Regions from separate parts of the Homo sapiens genome. Here region 1 is linked to region 2. Evidence: promoter capture Hi-C in 16 types of primary human blood cells and fetal thymus (Javierre and others, 2016). All regions are on one chromosome and are shown on one strand. The core of a region is centred on a gene start or on the middle of the fragment in contact, and the rest is flanking DNA. Distances in the headings are between cores, read along the strand shown.

Evidence for each region. The method cuts DNA at HindIII sites, captures the fragments that hold promoters and counts their contacts. A CHiCAGO score of 5 or more calls a contact.
Region 1: a contact is called between a fragment that was not itself captured here and the fragment with the promoter of ACTR3B in region 2, in 15 of 17 cell types (M2 macrophages, total B cells, endothelial precursors and 12 more). The highest score is 23.8, in M2 macrophages.

The regions. Positions count from the first base shown.
Region 1 is chr7:149,916,915-149,922,958 of GRCh38, reverse strand. It overlaps a transcript of ACTR3C not described here. Among named protein-coding and RNA genes, the nearest start is that of ATP6V0E2, 46 kb to the right of the region's middle. The HindIII fragment of the contact is 9,060 bases long and covers 134-6,044 here.
Region 2 is chr7:152,758,007-152,763,416 of GRCh38, reverse strand. ACTR3B (actin related protein 3B) reads right to left here and starts at 3,665. Exons shown (of 12, transcript NM_020445.6): 1 at 3,491-3,665. The coding sequence starts at 3,534. RefSeq lists enhancers at 2,814-2,863, 3,864-4,023 and silencers at 3,039-3,333, 3,094-3,613. The HindIII fragment of the contact is 7,028 bases long and covers 2,586-5,410 here.

The DNA of each region.
Region 1 (6,044 bases), core at 3,414-5,913, 2.8 Mb after region 2:
TAATTAATAAAAATTATTAGTAGTCAACAAATTTATTTTATGTGCATTCTTTTCATGTTGCATTGGACCTGTATTGACAGAGGACAGAGCCATAAATTACTATACTCTTCCCCTTACAACTGCCATAAAAGCTTCATTTAGGAAAAGTTCTCTGTAGCATTGATTTTACCATATGTCTTATATCCTTTTCATACTAAAAGATTCTTTAATAGTTTATTGGGCATATGGTGCTATAAATATACATTCATGTAACACTACTTCCTGGAACCTCCTAAAAATGAACAAAACTAACCAAAAATAGAGAAGAAAACAGCTAAAATTCATATCACATTTTATGAAATTTCCAGTGAAGTGTGGATCCATTTGCAGGAGGATACTGAGATGTGGCATCCCCGCCCATCTCTGGCTGGTTGCAGGTGTCTAAGCATACGTATCTGAAGGTACTACTCACAGTCGTTACAGCAGAGCTAGGAGCTGATGGATGAATAGACCATTGCCAAAGAAGCATATTCTGGCAGCAGCTCCTTTCCATCCTAAAATATAGCAGGGCATGCTGGGCTGAAAGAGGGATCATGTAGTAATGGTGTCATTATGTTCTTTGACTTTGTTTGACTAAAGGAGAAAATCTGTGAGGATGACCAGCTTATATCTGATCAGGAATTGCTAATATCTAAGATAAGGCATTTCCCCTTAAACCCGCCTGTCCTCCACAATGAACTTTGGAATTAGATATACACCCAGAACAAAGGATTTAGTAGAATTAGTGGGAAAGTATACCCAAGTTCAGGCTCTGATTGCTCACTGTTCAGCCAATTCTTCTAAACAACCAGAGGACTACACAGAGATTTCAAGACATTGTATTCAGTGTCATTGTAAGCATGGCGAAGAGTTGTTACTGAGCAAGCAAGTCCAGGGAGACCTGCACCCATTCAAAGCTGAGTGTGAAGCAGAAAGGACCCATCATGGGACTACGCACAGAAAATAAGGAAGGAAACATAACAAGCAAAAATAGATGAAAAAGTATACTTTGGAAAGAGTACTTCAGTAATTAGAATGGAATTTTATTTTTTTTTTCATTTTTTGAGACAGAGTCTCGCTCTGACACCCAGGCTGGAGTGCAGTGGCTTGATCTCGGCTTACTGCAACCTCTGCCTCCTGGGTTCAAGCCATTCTCCTGCCTCAGCCTCCCGAGTAGCTAGGATTACAGGTGCCTGCTACCATGCCTGGCTAATTTTTGTATTTTTAGTAGAGATGGGGTTTCACCATGTTGGCCAGGCTGGTCTTGAACTCTTGACTTCAGGTGATCTGCCTGCCTCAGCCTCCCAAAGTGCTGGGATTACTAGTGTGAGCCACTGTGCCCAGCTAGAATGGAATTTTAGATAAAGCCACTTTGCTCTTAAATTTAGACAACACGAGCTCAATAAAACAAAAGAACAAAGAAGTAATTTTAAAAGATTAAAGAAAGCTAAAAGGAGGAGATGGAGGTCAGCTGACATCCATAAGGAAAGAAATAGAAAACTAAAATCATTTCAGGAATTAAAAGCATGTTGGAGGTTACATGAGGTAGTACCAGTGGTTCTGAAATCACTGATGTGAGGATCAACTTCCTGAAATTACGTAGACCACGGTAGGAAAGAACAAAGAGGTCATGGTGATTAGAAAGAAGATGGAAGCTGTGGGAGAAGAGTCCAGAAGGCATCTACTGTAGTCAGAGCTGGTGTTCCTGCTGAAGAGAACAGAGTGTGTGGAACAGATGTAACATTAATAAATAAAAGACAAAGTTTTCCTGGAATATAATGAAAGATCATATAATATTAATATAAGGACTCACTGTGAACTGGAAAAAATTCAGAGTCATTAAAATGGAAGCGTATCCTGGTTAATTTATAAAACCTGAAAGATAGGCCGGGCACGGTGGCTCACGCCTGTAATCCCAGCACTTTGGGAAGCCGAGGTGGGCAGATCACCTGGGGTCAGACCAGCTGACCAACATGGAGAAACCCCATCTCTACTAAAAATACAAAATTAGCCAGGTGTGGTGGTGCATGCCTGTAAATCCAGCTACTTGGGAAGCTGAGGCAGGAGAATCGCTTGAACCTGGGAGGCAGAGGTTGAGGTGAGCCAAGATCATGACATTGCACTTCAGCCTGGGCAACGAGAGTGAAACTCCATCTCAAAAACAAAACAAAACAAACCCCTAAAAGATAAAAGAATACTACACATATTTAAGCAGGAAAAAAGCCAACAGGCCACCTATAATGGAAAAAATAAAATCACCTTAGTCTTGGGGTTTTCAACAGTGTAATGTGCCAAAAGATGATGAAGCAATGCTTAAGAATGTAGGGGGACTGGGCACAGTGGCTAATGCCTGTAATCCCAGCACTTTGGGAGGCCAAGGCAGGAGGATTGCTTGAGCCCAGGAGTTGGAGACCAGCCTGGGGAACATAGCAAGACCCTGTCTCTGTCCCCCTGCCCCCTAAAAGAAAAAGCCAGGTGTGGTGATGCGTGCCTGTGGTGTCAGTAACCTGGGAGGCAGAGGTGGGAGGATAGTGTGAATCTAAGAGTTCGAGGTTACCGTGAGTTGTGACTGCGCCACTGCACTCCAGCCTGGGTGACAAAGCGAGACTCTGGCTCAAAAGGAAAAAACAAGAGTAGGGGAGTTAGGGCAAGAAGGAAGACAATGTGATTGGATTGAAATGTCATTAAAATGCAGCATAATAAGACATTTGCAAATGGGCAAAAGCTCAGGAATTAATGGCATTCATAAACCTCACTGAAAAATCTACTTGCAGATATAACCCAGCCAACTGAAAGATGAATCAGTGAGGGCTCCAGAAATAGAGAGGTTGAAGTATAAAGATACCAGCTTCAATAATTGAATAATCTTTCTTGGAGAAATAAGCCAGAAGGCAAAAACAATTGAATAAATACCGACTCAACCTTAAAAATGTCAACACAATGATAACATGCCATAGCAAAATTTCCTGGAAGTCAACAATATCATGGGGGATTAGGTTAGGTTTGGGCTGGGGAGTGGGAGATACCACTGTGCTAATTGTCGTATCTTTCAGAATATGTGGTTAAGGAATACTGTTTCATTTTTTTGAAATTGATAAATTGAGAAGGCTATTATGCTAAAAACAGACTTTGTATACCTTTGAAATGTAAAAGTAAAAGTAAAATTGAGAGGAAGAAAAGCAACCAAATAAAATAGATTACAGAGTAAAAGGAAACAGGCAACAACAAGGAATAGTACAAAAGTTAAAACGAGTAAGACTGTTGCACCTGAGATGACCTCACCTGGCATGGACTCAACTAAATTCACTTTCTGTACTAAACAAAAACTATGGTAGTTACATATAAGTCATTCATTCAGAAAGTAAAAGGTTGGAAAAAAATTCAAAAAAGAAAGTAAAAGGGGCCAGACGCGGTGGCTCACGCCTGTAATCCCAGCACTTTGAGAGGCCGAGGTGGGTGGATCACTTGAGGTCAGAGTTCGAGACCAGCCTGGCCAACATGGTGAAACCCCGTCTCTACTAAAAATACAAAAATTAGCTGGGCATGGTGGTGGATGCCTGTAATACCAGCTACTCAGGAGGCTGAGGCAGGAGAATCGCTTGAACCCGGGAGGTGGCAGTTGCAGGGAGTGGAGATCATGATACTGCACTCCAGCCTGGGCAACAGAGTGACTCTGTCTCAAAAAAAAAAAGCAAAAGGATGGTTCAAAAATAAGCCAAACAAATGCACAGTAAAAGAAAGCGTGAGTATTATTTGATTGCAAAACAAAAAAAATTAAATGAAACAAGGGTTTAATTATTATTTTTTTGGTTTATTTAAAAATGTTTGATTTTATCATTGTACTCCGACCCTGCCAGTTAACTGTGGGTGCAGAGAACCTTTGCTTTACACATTCCGGAAAACTTGTAGAGAAGGCTGAAGCCAGGGAGGAGCAAGTGCCCAGCAGTGTGGGGCGGCAGAGGGTCTCACCATGGCCTGAGTATTTTGGGCTGTCCGCACTTGCTCCTCAGCCCTCCTATTCCAGTCCCACAGGTACATGGGCACCAACAAGTTCCAGAGCCTTTAAGGATCTAGGGAGTGTGTTGGGCTCGTTCTCAGCTCTTGCCCCTGCTGTCTTTCTTATATCTCTAAAGTCAGGCACGATGGGTCCTCAGCTTTTCAGGGCCAAAATCTTGCTGTTGTCACCTTTTCTTTTCTCCACATCCTCATGGTTTAATATTGCTTTAAATTTTTTGTTGTTGTTGTTTTTTGAGATGGAGTTTTGCTCTTGTTGCCCAGGCTGGAGTGCAATGGCGTGATCTCAACTCACTGCAACCTCCGCCTCCTGGGTTCAAGCAATTCTCCTGTCTCAGCCTCCCGAGTAGCTGGGATTACAGGCATGCGCCACCGCACCTGACTAGTTTTGTATTTTTAGTAGAGATGGGGTTTCTCCCTGTTGGCCAGCCTGGTCTCGAACTCCCGACCTCAGGTGATCCGCCTGCCTCGGCCTCCCGAAGTGTTGGGATTACAGGTGTGAGCCACTGCGCCTGGCCTAAATTTTTTTTTTAATTTTTAAAATAATTGCTTAAAAATTTTTTTTGCTTTGGTTTTAGTGGGGCTTTGGGAAAGAGTGAAATTAGATAATATGTTTAGTCCATCATTTAAACAGTTAAAACACTTTTAAAACACTTTAACTGGAAGTCAGAGTTTACCTTACAACAATGTTCAGAATTCACAAAAGGGCAGTGTGCTTTATGATCTTATATATACGAAGTAACATAGAGAAAAAAAAAGTACTCAGAAGGAGAAATAGAAAATTTAAGGACGGGCAAAGATACTGGATCTGGATAAAATATTTAAGTTTGAACTTTATATATTGAATTCTTCGTTCTATAGAGACTATGCTTTTCTATGCAGCAAGCCAAGGAACATTAAAAAAATTGGTCATGTAATTTACATTGCACAATATGGAGATTGTGCGTTGCTTTAAAACTATTGTTAGCGTCTGGGAACAATTTTACTTTTATCAAAACCATGTTTAAACTGTGAAAAATCTTAAGAGGGAGTAGAGCTATTCTGATTGAAGTTTGGGGTTTGAGACTGGACCTCACCAGGGGTCTCAATCAAAAGAACTTCTCACAGGACACAGTTTGAGAACACTAGCCAGGCATGGTGTCGTGCACCTATAGTCTCGGCCACTCAGGAAGTTGAGGCAGATGATTGCTTGAGGCCAGGAGGTCAATGCTGCAATGAGCTATGATTGCACCACTGCACTCCAGCCTGGGTGACAGAGTGAGACCCTGTCTCAAAAAAAAAAAAAAAAAAAGATGTAAAACACTGTTTTAAGATGTAACATTTCTACTTTCAAACATAAATTAATTGACCTTAGGTTCATTACCTTCTGCTTAAGACACATGGTTGGAAGAGGAGTTTCAATTATATATAAATATGTTGAGTCAACAATAGGTTAATTTTCCTGACTTTGCAGAACTGAAAAGTCTACATATTACTGCTGTCAAAAGATAGGAGCATTTAACAAGTAAAGTGAAAGAGTCTTCGTGCAAGAACTGTTTAAAATGTTTGGGGCAGGCTGGGTGTGATAGCTCAGCCTGTAATCCCAGCACTTTGGGAGGCCGAGGCGGGCAGATCACCTAAGGTTGGGAGTTTGAGACCAGCCTGACCAACATGGAGAAACCCTGTCTCTACTAGAAATACAAAATTAGCTGGGCGTAGTGGCGCATGCCTGTAATCCCAGCTACTCGGGAGGCTGAGGCAGGAGAATCGCTTGAACCCAGGAGGCGGAGGTTTCAGTGAGCCAAGATCGCGCCATTGCACTCCAGCCTGGGCAACAAGAGCGGAACTCCATCTCAAAAAAAAAAAAAAAATATTTGGGGCAAATAATAATATATTGTATGTACAGAGAGAAGCATCGGAAAGATACACAGGAATAGAAGGTGGATAGAAGGCAGAAATGGGGTAGTGTAAGACTTCTTAAAGGATACCTTTTTATATTGCTTTGAATTTTGAGCTATAACATATTCTTTGCT
Region 2 (5,410 bases), core at 2,416-4,915:
CAATGGATACTTAAACTAATGGATGAAAGTTTAAGAATAGAGTACTTACATAAAATATTCCCCCACAAATGACTTTTTTTTTTTTTTTTTTTTTTTTTTTTTTGAGATGGAGTCTCGCTCTGTCACCAGGCTGGAGTGCAGTGGCCCGATCTCGGCTCACTGCAACTTCCGCCTCTCGGATTCAAGTGATTCTCCTGAGCAGCCTCCAAAGCAGCTGGGACTACAGGCACGCACCACCACACCCAGCTAATTTTTGTATTTTTAGTAGAGACGGGGTTTCACCATGTTGGCCAGGTTGGTCTCGAACTCCTGCCCTCAGGTGATCCGCCCGCCTCGGCCTCCCAAAGTGCTGGGATTACAGGCATGAGCCACCGCGCCCAGCCAAATGACTTATTAATTACAAAGAAAAATAGTAACTGAACAGTGAAGAAACCTCGTGGACATCACCCTCTCCAAATGATCCAAGTGAACTTCATCAAGACTGAGGCGAGTCCCTATCTTAAGCCTTTCGATGGGATGCACTAAGAAGGATCAACAGGACTTCTGTGGTAGTCCTGACAAATATGCATATCCTGTATCTATCACAGAGAAACACTAGGTAACAACTGGCTGTCAAAAATGCCAACATCTTGAAAGACAAAAAAAGGTTAAGAAATTATTCCAGATTAAATTAGACTTAAAAGACATGACACCCACCAGATGCAATGTATGCCGCTGATGGGGAGGTCTTTCATGGGTGACATTCCATAAAAGACATGAATCCATACTGTATATAGGATACTACTGTATGTATGTTAAATTTTCTGATTTTGATGATTGGAATGTGATTCTAGAAGGGAAAATGTGTCCTCAGAAAGTACGCATTCAAGTATTTTGATATAAAAGGGTATGATCTCTGCAACTTACTCTCAAACAGTGCAGGAAAGTAATAATAATATGTATGGACATACAGAGAGTGACAAAGCAAATGTTAACAGTTGGTAAAACTGGAAGAAGAGTATACAGTAGTTTTTTGTTCTCTTCCAGCTTTCAGTAGATTTGAAATTATTTCAAAAAAAGTTGAAAAATGCAAAAGACTTCATTTGAAAAGTTTGGCTCAGAGAAGTGAGACCGGAGTTGTGAAATATTCTCTGAAAACTATGCAGCCTAGTCATCCCTTTAAATAGATGAAGCTTTATTTTTGGACTCAGCAGATCCCTTTGTCCATATTATCCTGGCCTCCAGCACATCACTGCTTACTCAGGTAGTCTCGGGGTTTACCTGAGGAGGATTCAAGGATACTGGGATGAAATTTATTTGTAAAAAATACTGTTTATCACACTGTCCAATAAATCATTAGTGCCCACTATGTATAGCTCAATGCTTTTACAATTTAGTACTACAAAAAAAGGCTTTTTTCACCCAAGAAACAGGTATTTCTCTTGATTTCTGATGACAGGAATTACATAACCATGACTCTTATGATGTTGTCAGACAGGAAGACTAAGGTCGAATGTGCGGACCAACTTCAGCAGCCACTGGGCTAAAGCTCAGGGTGACTTCCTAGGTCCGTTCTTTTCCTTTGGCTTGGTTATTTTTATCTGAATTTTACCACTTTTTGTCCTATTTTGAGGCAAAACTAAATCCAAAAATCATTTTGGCTCTCTGGGAAATGTAAGAACTACTGATGTGCTCAAGTTGGTAAATTCGGGCTCTTTCAGGCTCCTTCTGGCCATACACTCGATATGGGGAATTCATATGGAGATTCCCTGCCACCGTTTCTAAGTCTTGACACCAACTTCTGAAGCATGACTTTGGGCCACAAAACAATGATCTATAGAAGTTGAATCTCCAAGTTAGCCAAGTTACATTAATCACTTACCTCAAAAGGTCAAAACTGAGCACGACATTTTAGGTATTTATAGCAAGAAAGATGAGTAAGGTCCACGACTTACTAATCTTAAAGGTATGACAACTCTGTGAGCATTATTTTATTGCTACTACCAAGAATTCCTTTATATTTTAATAGTTCTGCAAGACTAAAACTACAAAGCAAAAATCTCACATGCAAATGTGGAAATGAAAAATACTTTCACCCACTGGTTTCACTCTTGACACAACCAGACCTGAGGGGACCTGAGGTGAACCCATTGGGGGAGGGCATGAGTTAAGGGTGTCAATAATTGAGGGAGGGGAGCTGTAGTATCGACAACGCTGATTTTGGCTTGTGTTTTAGGTAGAAAAGCAAGTTCTAAAATAAAGAGCTACAAAGCTTGATATGACGTGTATTTCAAAAAGAATTCACACAAGCAAAGAGGATTTTTCCAGTCCACAACCACTTCTGGTCGCTTCAGCAGCAAAAGGAAGGAACTAACAGTAGGAGATGGACTGTAGCAAACTAAAGAAGGCACCCCCACAAGGTTGTCAAGGAAACCAAACCAAGTGCATTTTTCTATAGAAAAGAATCAAGGGTAAGGTGAACATGCCATGTTACATTTTGTGGCAAAAATGATTAAAATCCCTTCTTGAAAAAAATCGCTAAGAGACCAAATTTACTTCCAGGCTATTTTACTAAGCACTACACCCATAACGCAGGCAGGCAAGCTTGTATTCCCAAACTACCAGCTACATGGATTCAGCAATCACCTTACTACAACCAGCTAACTTGGGTCACCGATACTTCAGGGCATTTCCTAAGATCTCTTTTTAATAGCTTAACGGCAACGAAAGAAGTGGTCACACTCAAAAAGTTAAAAACAAAAACCTCTACCACAATTCCACAAACATGCTCTCCCAAATTTAGGGTATTTTTCAAAATGGAGTCTTTTTAAACACATCATTTTTCAGCGAAAAGGCAAATCTATGCAAACCAAAGGGACAGCTTGGCCTGAGTGTGCCATTTCATACTGGAAAAGCGCAGGGAGGGCAGTAAAAATGGTATCAAGTTGGGAGATCGATGCTATTCTCTCCACAAGTAGGTGGTAAAGAATCCTCAGCCAGGAGGAATGACACGCACACGCGGGGACAGAACGAGGGCCAGTGCTGAGAACGCTGGAAGGCAGGGACACCGTTCACTAGGAGATGAGTGACGTTAAAGGATCTGCAGTGATGATCTGTGCCTCACGCTGGCGAATATTCCTAGGAGGGGAGATCCCGCGCTCCCGGTGTCCCTCAGGGTGTCCACCCCGGCGACGGCCGGAGCCGGGCTGCGGGTCCAGGGGCCCGGCCACGTGGGCGGGGGAGGCGAGGAGCGCCGGGCTCGCTCAGAGTGGGCACCGCGTCCCTACCCTCCGTGCTTTTCCTCTTGTGGCCCTTCCCGGCAGGGAAGAGGGGGTTTTACGACGTCAAGGCAAGGCTTGGAGGGAAGCGGCGGCCGGCGCCCCACCTGCCCAGGTGATCGCGGGGCTCAAGCCCGGGGCGACGGACGCAGCTCGACCTCCAGGCGAGGTGGACGCCAGGGGCCGGGAGCGGGGCCGCGGAGGAGCGGGGGTGGGCGCCGAGCTGCTCTTACCCGGTGCCACAGTCCACCACGCAGGGAGGCAGGGAGCCTGCCATGCTCGGGACGCGCGGCGCTCGGCCCCGCCGGCAGCCCGAGAGCGCCCCGTCGCCGTCCGCTCCGCCGCCCGCTAGCCCCGCGCGCAGCGTCTCCCGCGAGCCGCCGCAGCGCCGCTGCCGGGAGCCCGGATGCTCGGCGGCCGACACGTGACGTCACTCCCCGGTCGGCCAATCAGAACGCGCGCACGCCCCGCCTCCCCCAACACCCCCACCCCCACTCCGGCGCGCCATCTTTAGTGCTGGCAGCGAGGCTTCTTGGCCCCATACGTCCAACCTTGCTGCTGGAGAGATTGGGGTTTATTTTTAACTGACTTACATGAACGTGACCCCATTTCCGAGGCCTGGCGCCTTTCTCCTCCTGTAAGTCTTCGCTCGAATGTCACCTTGCGAGGGAAGTTGTTCCTGATCACCCTGACTATGTCCCCTACCGGTACTGTATCCTCTGTCTCAACAATCTGTTGGTTTCATTCCTAACCCTTAAAGCAAAGTGTTTATATTTTTATATTTATGTATTTGTTGTCTGCCTCCCCTACTGGACTATCAAATCTTCTAGGATAGGGCTTGAGTCTGTCTTAATCACTATTGATGAGCAGCAGGTGCTTAGCACAGTATTTGGTGTACCTGTGGAAGTGCCCAAATGTTTGTTGAATGACTGAGTAACCTTCCCCATATAATAAAAAAAAAAAAAAAAATTAGTTGGAATTGGCCGGGCGCGGTGGCTCACGCCTGTAATCCCAGCACTTTGGGAGGCTGAGGGTGGATCACAAGGTCAGGAGTTCCAGACCAGCCTGGCCAACATGGTGAAACCCCTTCTCTACTGAAAATACAAAAATTAGCCGGGCGTGGTGGCGGGTGCCTGTAATCCCAGCTGCTCCGGAGGCTGAGGCAGGAGAATCGCTTGAACCTGGGAGGCGGAGGTTGCAGTGAGCCAAGATCGCGCCATTGCACTCCAGCCTGGACAACAGGGCGAGAGTCTGTCTCAAAAAAACAACAAAAAAAATTAGTTGGAATTATTATACCTAACACGGCCTAAATTTTTCTAAGAAGAAAAATCTGCAAAACAAATGCTTGGCCAGCCTTAAGGAATGAATGGCCTTAGACTGAGTAAACCACACCAAGATCACTCCTGGAAAATGTTTTCAAGTGTCGAAGATGGGATGATCGCCCAAAAGTTCTTACTGAAACCAAAGAAGGCAAACACCACCTACTATATTATAAAGGTACTGAGAGTCCCACTTGCCACTTGCTTCCTGCTTCTTGCCCGATCGTAAATTCTTGATACTAATTTTTTAGGAGCTTTCTGGAAACATGTATTTTTTTGTTTTGTTTTGTTTTTTGAGATGAGTCTCACTCTGTCGCCCAGGCTGGAGTGCAGTGGCGCAATCTCGGCTCACTGCAACTCCGCCTCCCAGGTTCAAGCAATTCTCCTGCCTCAGCCTCCCAAGTAGCTGGGATTACAGGCACCCACTACCATGCCCGGTTAATTTTTTGTATTTTTAGTAGAGACAGGGTTTCATCATGCTGGCCAGACTGGTCTTGAGCTCCTGACCTCGTGATCTGCCTGCCTCAGCCTCCCAAAGTACTGGGATTACAGGCATGAGCCACCACGCCCAGCCAAGACATGTTGTTTTTACAGGTACTTAAAACATTGTGTTTTTTACCTAGAAGTAATAGATACGTTGACCACTCCTAGGTAACCCATCATCATTTCTTTTTTTTAACTCATAAGTACCCATTAAGGCCCAGACCTAGAGAATGTTCAGGAGAACTGAAGAGAGAAGCAAATGGGAGGAAAATAAAAAGGAGTAAGTGTGGAGGAATCCCAGTTTAGAAGCCCAAGGCTGGGGTTAAAGATTGGCTGGCTTGCTTTGTGTTT